Regions from separate parts of the Homo sapiens genome. Here region 1 is linked to region 2. The links are contacts of gene promoters, found by promoter capture Hi-C in blood cells and fetal thymus (Javierre and others, 2016). All regions are on one chromosome and are shown on one strand. The core of a region is centred on a gene start or on the middle of the fragment in contact, and the rest is flanking DNA. Distances in the headings are between cores, read along the strand shown.

Region 1 (4,652 bases), core at 579-3,078, 860 kb before region 2:
CTTATATTTCTGACATAAGATTCCAAACATTAGTATAAGTTCATGTTAAAATCAGAGGTGTAAAAACCATTTGCAGATTTTAACGTGTAACTACATTTTTTTTTCAGTTTTAAGACAAGAAAATTCAAGTAATTTCAAGTAATTCAGCTTGTTTCCCTGCCTTTATTTTATCAGAGCACATGCCCTGACATTTCCTCTCCCACCCTCCACCCTCCCCTTTTGCCATCAAGCAGACACTATAGTAAAACCAGACAAAAACTCAGTTGTATGTAGTATTGTGAACCAGAGCTGTTCCCCATTCCCAGTTTAACAATGAGTATAAATAATGCATATACACATACCTATTTTCCAACTACATTGTTCACAGTGTCATTTCTGTTAATTTTTAGGTAGCATGAATCTCATCAGCACAGAGAGAAAGCTTCACTGAAAACTCATTACAGGTACTTACTGATTAATCAATAGCTCTGTGGCATGCTTAGGTTTTATTTTTGTTAGTTTAAGAACCTGGAGCTAATTTCTAAACTGTTTAAGGAGTTTAATGATTACAGTCATTAGTTATGACCGTTTATGTCCCCAGTAGCCTAATATAAAACATAACCTAAAATTAACTACTATTTTCCCTACTCATTCTCTTTAAAGCAATCCATTGAAAAAATTAAAATCTAAAGGACACTGTCAAATGCTGTTGTTCAGGGCTTTGTGTTGAGAATGATGACTTCTCTCACTGATTAAAAAAAAAATCAAAAGCATGCTTTTCATTCTGTCCAAATTACCACACAACAAATCACAGCCATGGGTTGCTATTAGTTTGTTTGGTGCTGCAATTTGTCATAAAAATGATTAGATCTGAATTCATTATTTTAATTTATTCATATTTCAGTATATGACCTCAAGATTTCCTTTAGTTCACCAGTTTAAAATTCATATTTGAGGTTTACCACTCAGAAATCATATTGGTGGACATTTAAATATGGCATTTGATATGAAAATGGTATTCACAGAATACAGTTATTACATTTTATTTTTGTGTATTCTATAAACAGTTGGTGTGCAGTAGATAATTGACCACATGTCCACTCATCATTGATAAATCTATTTACACATTTTTATCAAAAATATGGTATTTACATATGTGTAGTTCTTTCTTCTAAATTTTGCTTTAGTTTGTTTTAATGTAAAAAAATACCAAACATCCAGAGTAATTTCATCTTCTTAAAGAATAATGACAGTGAGGGCTTTAGTTTCTGAATAGGCAGCTCTGGGAAAACGTTTTCTAGGTGTCATGAAAATTAGACAATTTTGTATCCTCTATTTTCACAAGGAAGGAGATTGCGTAAATCAAACTATGCTAAAGAAAAACATGAAAGACTGCAGCTACTTAAAATATGGAAACTAATCAAGAATGTCTAAACCACTTTCTGTTTACCCAGCACATACTGTATTTAGAAATTCATTCATTGCTTAGCAGTGATGCTACCCCATCAAGTTGAGACTTTTCCCAAGTCCTCTGTTCTGTTCCTCCATCCTCATGTGAGTAAGGGTTTTGGCCTTTGCCAGGCAGCCTGGTACAGGCAGTCTATGTTGAACTCTGGGAGGAACGGTCGTCATGTGGGCTCCCGTCAGAATTTTCCGTCTCTCCCTCGGAGATTGCCTGCATGGGCGTATTGTACAGCCGGCAGCGGACACTGTAGCGGCTGCTGCTGGCTGCAGGAGGGGCCCGAGAACGTCCAACCCTTGCTGATGCTGAGGTGGCAAAGCTCTTCGAGGAAAAGCCTTCTGCATTAACTCGTGGGGAGCATGGAGAGAGTGGGGACAATGCCTCAGCCCCTTGTGACCCCTGATGGGCATCATCGGTGCTCTGAGGGGACTCTGCTGTGAGCTCCCCAGGAGGTTTGGGCAGTATGGGGCTCTTCAGGATCTCAGTGGCAGACATGCGGTAACTAGAATCTGAGCGACTGCCTTTCTTGAGCAGTAACAGCTTAAACTCTTCATTGGATGTGTTGGACTTTTTGGCATTTCGGTATATGAGACCAGGAGACCTCTGGCTGTTGGGGGTTGTCACATTACTGCTGGGTGAAGTGATGGAACTGGCGCTGCTGCTGCTACTGCTGAGGGGAGCTCTCGATTTGCTTCGAACAGACATGTCCCCGGAATCTTTTCTTCCAAGTACTTTCCTCTTGGATCTTTGAGAAAAGGAGAAAATGGGGCAAACATCTCACTCAGTTCACGTTTTTATGAAACTGAAGTATTCAGTCGCATTCACACATCTGTCTAAAGTGCATTTTGAGCCTGTCCTATATGATGGGATACTAAGCATTAGGGCTATAGAGATGAAAAGTAAGATATGTTCCTTGTCCTTGTAGCACCCACAGTCTGAGAGAAATTCTCTGATAACCAGGACACAAATTAGGTTCTAGAGATGATCATTTCAGATAATGGCTAATGTGGAGGCTAGAGGTTCTAGAGGATACTTTGTAAAAGTTTAAGAAACTATACTGCTAACAGCCAGGCGCAGTGGCTCACACCTGTAATCCCAGCACTTTGGTAGGCCGAGATAGGCAGATCACTTGAGGTCAGGAGTTCGAGACCATCCTGGCCAACATGGTGAAACCCCGTCTCTACTAAAAATACAAAAATTAGCCGGGCATGATGGAGCATGCCTGTAGTCCCAGCTACTCAGGAAGCTGAGGCAGGAGAATCACTTGAACCCGGGAGGCGGAGGTTGCAGTGAGCTGAGATCACGCCATTGCACTCCAGCAGCCTGGGCGACAGAGCAAGACTCTGCCTCAAAAAAAAAAAAAAAAAAAAAAAAAAAAGGAAGAAACTATACTGCTAACTAAACTATACTTCTGGTTCCAGGGGGTGAAAGACTATAACTTTTTCTTATTAACTCTGTCTCTGCAATACAGATGAAATGATCTGATGTCTGGGATTGGCTTCCAAATAATACCAGAGAAAGCAAGTGGATGGAGGTGTGGGTGGGACAGGATTGGCCCTAGTTTGACAGTTGATAATCCTGGATGATGGATATGTCAGCAGACATTATACTATTCTACCTTTTAAAATCCCTCCATATAAAAACATAATTAAATGACGTTTTAAGTCAATTCATCTTGGGCTGCAAGTATCATTTCCTATAGCTTCCTAAGAGCATCAAGAGCATATTAAGCAGTAAGCCAGCTCTCTGTGGGGAATTGAAATCCCAGACCATCTCTGGAGCTCTTAAAGCTTTGTATACTGTAAGCTCGCAAGAAAACAAAATAATTCTTTTTGCTGTGATGTAAATAAACAAGTAAATAGATAAATAAGTAAACCCTGCACAAATGCAAGTCTAAGATTACCAAACTCAATACATCTATTGAACCTTGACTCCCATCATCATATTATTGATTTTCTTTGGTAAATCAGCAGGCATAAATTTGGTGGATCTTCAGTATGACTCAGTTCATTGATAGGCAGCATGCACTTTCATCAACTTAAAGATTCATATGGTAGAGAAAATGTGAACTTCACAAGTGTAGATATGCTTGATTTTGGTTCACAGAAACCTCTGTGGTTGATATCTTGTATATGGCAGTGTCTGGCACTCCACTAAGTTAGGGCTTTCAAACTAACAATGGCTTTTAGCACCTACCATATTCTAAACACAAAAAATGTTATCATCAAAATCAAATACGTGAGCTATAGGCATTCCCATGTGCAATAAGGGAGTAGGTCCAGAGGTTTTAACTTACTCAAGACTGCATAGGAAGTGGCAGAGTTGGGATTCAAATCCAGGTCTTTCTGACCCCACTATTTACGTCCTGTCCACTATTCCATACACTAGCATTTGGTCCTTTGGGAGTAACTTTTTAACTTACATAGCAGTTTAGTAATTTTTCCTGGGATTGAAGATAAACTGTGGGGGTGAGGGAAATATAATCAGAGCTTAGACTAGGCACAGGGGTGAAGGAAAAGAAACTAATGGTTCTTCACCCTCTGAGTAGAGAAGTATGCCTGCTAAGGTATACATAGAAGGTGTTTCTGATTGGCTCCTTTTAAAACAATTGTTGAACAGCAGTACTCCTTCTTTATGAGAGAACCACATCAACAGAAAACAGAAATTCCTATAAAAAGTAGAATTCCAGGAGAAAAAGATTGTAAGCTGCTTACGATGAATTTGTTTCAAAAATGATAACTTTATGAGGTAGAAAAGACAATCCCCAAGTTGTATCTCTTGGGAGTTCCATCTAGGTTCCCGAGGTCTAAGAAGACAGTTGTGTTTGTGAAAGGAGGAGGCATGGCAAATCATGATTGGCTAGCTCAGTTATATGTAGATTAGGTGTCCAAGGGCTAGTTCCTGTTCTGTTCTTTGGTCATTAGCTATAAGGAATAATTTTTGCAAATATGGACCATGGATCACAAGGGCTCATGGGGGCAGATGAGGAAATATGCCTTTGCAGCATGGACACAACACTGTCCTGGAAAAGCAACCCAAAAGACCTGTATTCATGGAATATGGGCATTAATTTTGGGGATGAAGGCCAGTACTATTAAAGAAATTTAAGTTCTAAGAAGAAAGAAAAACAGAGAAATTATTACTTGTTCTGAGCTATAAAATGGACAGGAACACGTATTGTCTTTTCTCAAACTTGAGACTGTTTTGTGAT
Region 2 (4,459 bases), core at 1,809-4,308:
CTCACTAGCTATGTCACCTTGGCAAGAAACCTCACCACTTTGGCTCAGCTTCCTCATGTGGTGAGCACCGGTCCAGGTGCTGAGGGCACAACAAAACAAGAATCCTACCCTCTAATTTACATTCTAGTGTGCAAGAAAAAGCCTGTGGACAAACATCTGTCAGATGGCGATAAGCGATAAGCGCTGTGAAAAAACAGAAAATAGAGTAAAGGGGATAGGAGGTGATTACCTGTGGGGGTGGATGAGGGCGTGTTGCTATTTTATAAAGGGTAGTCGGCAACAGCTAAAGGTTTAAAAACTAGGCCCAGCACGGTGGCTCATGCCTGTAATCCCAGCACTTTGAGAGGCCAAGGTGGGCAGATCCTTGAACTCAAGAGTTCGAGACCAGCCTCGGCAACACGGTGTCTCTACTAAAAACAAAACAAAACAAAATCTGGGAATGGTGGCCTGTGTCTGTGGTCCCAGCTACTTGGGAGGCTGAGGTGTGAGGTTTGCCCGAGCCCAGGAGGTTGAGGCTGCAGTGAGCTGTGATCGTGCCACTGCACTCCAGCCTGGGTGACAGAATGAGAGCCTCTCTCAAAAAAAAAAAAAAAGAAAAGAAAAGAAAAAAAGAAAGAAATAGAAATTTAAAAATCATAGTGTAGTGTTTTTCAAACTTCAAGTTGTGACTAAGCGCAATCATGAAGTCCATTTAGAATTTGCATTTTCGAAAAAATGAAATAAAATTCATCCCTTCCTTGTGTGTGTGCACCTGTTTGTGCCTTACTCTATTAGCTGAGCACAGGAGAGACAAAAAGAACAACCCCAGAAAAGTGCCAGAAAAGATTAGGACCAGAGCTAAGAGGCTGGGGAGAAAGGCAAAACAAACCCAACAGTTAAGCAATCCAAGAGAGAAAACATATCACTTTTTTTAATGCAAAAAAAGTAGTATGGAAAAAAGGCCAAAAAATTAAATAGAATTGACAGATTCAATTTAACAACAACAAAAATGCAAAACTAATGAAATATGCTGTACATGACACTTTCGGATTAAATGCATGATAGTGTGTGAATATTCTCAGAAATTCCCAAAATATTTGTTCCATATTTCCTTCTCTGACCCTCACTGAGGTAAACAGTATCAAGATTTTAAAGCCAAGTCGTCTGGGAAGATTTCTTTTCTTTCAGTCCTTTAAACATTTCTTTTAATAGGTTTTGGAAATCATGTCTACTTGTCAGAAATGAGTACACTGTATTAAAGGGATACAAATCATCTCCCAAGCCGCCTCTTGCTTTGCACACGAGGTTCTCTTTGAAGCAGAGCCATAAGGTACAATTATTCTAGAACAAGGTGGGCAAACTACAGTCCTCCGACTAAATCTAACCCACCACATGTTTTTGTATGACCCTCGAGCTGAGAATGGTTTTTCCGTTTTCAAGTGATAGAAAAAAAAAATCAAAAGATTTTGTGACCCGTGAAAACGATTTTAGTGTCTGTAGTTTTATCGGAACGCAGCCAAATGCATCCATATTTTCCATGGCTGCTTTGCGCTGCAAAGCGACAGAGTCGAGCAGTTGCCCCCAAAGCCTAAAATATTTACTATCTCGGTCCTTTTAGAAAAAGTCTTGCCAACTAATGTCCTAGAATATGAGGGCTGTATTGCTTAAACACCCTTCCAACTCTCTTCCCTCTCTAGCCACCCCCTCAGCCTTAGGCACTAACAAGATTCCTTGACCCAGAATGGGGGGAGGGCGTTATAATAATGAACGGTATTGTATCGGAAACAACACAGTAAATATCTACAGAAGGGAATGTGACTGGTTCTGCCACTGACTAACGTCTGGGTTTGCGTCCCGGTCAGAAAAGTGGGCATGACAGCGGCATCTGCAAGATAGCATCTGAGCATGAAGGCACTTGGAAAGGTATCAAGGCAGCAAATGTTCCGGGGGTGCTTTTGCAAGAGGAGCCTCTCCCGGAGCTGGACGTACACTTCGGTTCCCTTTGCACGCAGGCACCTTGGTCGCCTCCCCCAACTCCGTCCCCTCTGCTCCTGGCCCTCATTTTCTTCTATTTCCCTTTTGGCCTTGCAGCCAGCTTTCTCCTCCCCCGACACACTCCTCAGGGGCTATGAAGTTCCTGAGCAGAGCAGGGCTCAGGTAAGCAGGCCCAGGGTAGTTCAGCCCTGCTCTCTCCAGCTCCGCCAGCTTGGGGTGGGGTCGCGCTGGGACCCCTGCAGGTGACAAAAATGACTCAGCAGGGGCCGGGGCTGGGATGAGAAAGGAACGCCAGTGCAGGGACAAAATCCCCTGAAGCGCGAAGAGGCCGCAAACCATCATCTTAAGGACCCAAACATCGAACAAATTAAAATGTAACAGTGTAAATCGGCTTCGGCCCGCCGGCGGCCTGTGCCGCCACAGGCTGCACATTTAGCCTAACAGGGCGGCCCGGCGGCTTTTGCAGGCAGAAAACGCCCGCGGCCTCTCCAAAAGCTCTCCTCCGTCTGAGACCAGCCCCACCTCGGCCCGACCGGGCCCCAGGAAAGGCCAGTCGGCTGGAGGAGAACATTTCAGGGGTGCAGAGAATTGCATGTCCGTGATTATCAGGGAGACTTTGAAGGCACAGTAATCTCTCGAGAACAGGAACCATTTTCCCCTCTTGCTCTGAGATTTTGCTTGGCTAAGCGGCGGCAGCCTCCCTGCCCCCCTCTCACCCCCACCACCGCTGCCGCTACAAGCAACCACGCCCCGCGGGCCCCAAGGCTCGCCGCCCCGGGGCTCGCGGCCCCCACTCAGCCGGCCAGCCGCGCCTCCATCAGCCCCGCCCTCGCGCGCCCCCATCCGCCCCGCCCCCTCGGGCCCTCATCCGCCCCGCCCCCGCGCGCCCCATCCGCCTCCGCGGCCGGCCCTGGGAGCGCCGGGCGAGCCCTCGCGCCTGCGCATCGCCAACTTCCTGCCGCGGCACGCTCCGCCCACCCCCAGAAGCCCGCCTCCGAACGCCGCGTGAAACCCGCCCGCCGCGCGTCATTGGTCTCGGCGCCGGAGCCGTTGGCTCCCAGACCCGCCTCTCCGCCTCCTCTCACTTTTCCCAGGGCGGATGCGCCTGCGCTCAGCTGCCTGGGCGGGCTGGGAGGCGCGGGTTGAAAAGTCTCGTTCCAAGTTTGGAGAGAGAGAGAAGAGCGCCTCAGACCTCGGTACCCGCGAGCGGGGAGGAGGCAGGAAAGAAGGACGCGGCGTCTGGGGAGCACCCAGGCAGCAAGACGGGGCCCGGGCTTTCGACAGTGGGGAGTGTGACGCGCTTGGGAAAGGCAGGAGCGCCAGCGGTCGGGCTGCTCTTGGCTAACGAGAGGAGTCCGAGGCGGCGGCGAGGGGCGAACGACCCGACGCAAGATGGCGAGTAAAGAGAGTAAGAGGCCCTGCGGGGCGGCGCGCGCCGGGGCCGCGGGGGGCGGCGGGCGCGCGAGGCCGCGGCACGCGCCGGCGAAAGGCGCGAATTGGCGTGCGGAGCAGGGGGCGGGGCCGGGCGCGAGACTGGGCGCGCGCCTCGAGGGGCCTGCGCGGGACGGGACCGCCGCGCCGAGGGCTCCGAGCACTTCCGGAGCCGGGCGCGGGGCCGAGGGCTGGGCCCCCCTCTTCCCTTCCCTCCTCCAGCGGCTGCGCTCCCTCCGGCGCCCTCGGCCCCGGGGCGGAGGCGGCCCCCGCCGCTGGGAAGCGAGCGCCGCGGCTCTTTCTACGCGCGCGCGCGCGTTGACCGCCTCGGGGTCGCGGCCCTTGTCCGGGGGTTGCTGGGGTCCTCAGGCCTATGGCTGCCGAGGCGGGCGTCGTGGGAGCTGGGGCCTCCCCTGATGGGGATTGGAGAGACCAGGCCTGTGGGCTTCTGCTACACGTGCATTTGTCTTCCCGACTGGGTCGCGCAGCCCCTGTACGTACAGGTCGTCATCTTAGAACAGGTGCGAACAGCTGTAACAGGGTAAACAATTTCCATGTCCGTGTAATTGACTACCCAACATGGTGTACGCAGGGGGTATTGATCTCAATGGAAAAAATAGGCTTCCTGATTGTTAGTATTTTCTCCACCTTCTGGAAGAGCAGTTAGTTGTCCGTGTCCAAATTAGAGGTAAAAGGAAAGAGTACATGAGGTGTGGCCATCTTGAGGTGACCTCCAATTTCTGACTTTGATCTATCTCAGCCACTTAATCGTGTGGGCTTTCTCCAAATTTCAGTGTTTGAAGATACTGTGGAGGAGCGTGTCATCAATGAAGAATATAAAATCTGGAAGAAGAATACACCGTTTCTATATGACCTGGTTATGACCCATGCTCTTCAGTGGCCCAGTCTTACCGTTCAGTGGCTTCCTGAAGTGACTAAGTAAGGGTTTCTGGCAACTTTTATTTTGTTTAAATTTAACTGTCGTTCTGAATTTCCTAGTTTTGGCGTTTTATGCATAGAACATAAGTATGTAATCAGCCCTTGCATGAGGTGG

What was found. Contacts are between HindIII fragments. The CHiCAGO score rates a contact against its expected background, and 5 or more counts as called.
Region 1: a contact is called between a fragment that was not itself captured here and the fragment with the promoter of RBBP7 in region 2, in 1 of 17 cell types (neutrophils). The highest score is 6.1, in neutrophils.

What each region holds. Positions count from the first base shown.
Region 1 is chrX:17,729,392-17,734,043 of GRCh38, reverse strand. NHS (NHS actin remodeling regulator) reads right to left here. Exons shown (of 9, transcript NM_001291867.2): 9 at 1-2,186. The coding sequence ends at 1,580. Among named protein-coding and RNA genes, the nearest start is that of SCML1, 5.8 kb to the left of the region's middle. The HindIII fragment of the contact is 2,810 bases long and covers 424-3,233 here.
Region 2 is chrX:16,868,961-16,873,419 of GRCh38, reverse strand. It overlaps RBBP7 (RB binding protein 7, chromatin remodeling factor), which reads left to right and starts at 3,058. Exons shown (of 12, transcript NM_002893.4): 1 at 3,058-3,382; 2 at 4,200-4,344. The coding sequence starts at 3,367. RefSeq lists enhancers at 2,364-3,042, 4,052-4,141 and silencers at 2,782-3,091, 3,422-3,471, 3,492-3,831. The HindIII fragment of the contact is 7,607 bases long and covers 1-4,459 here.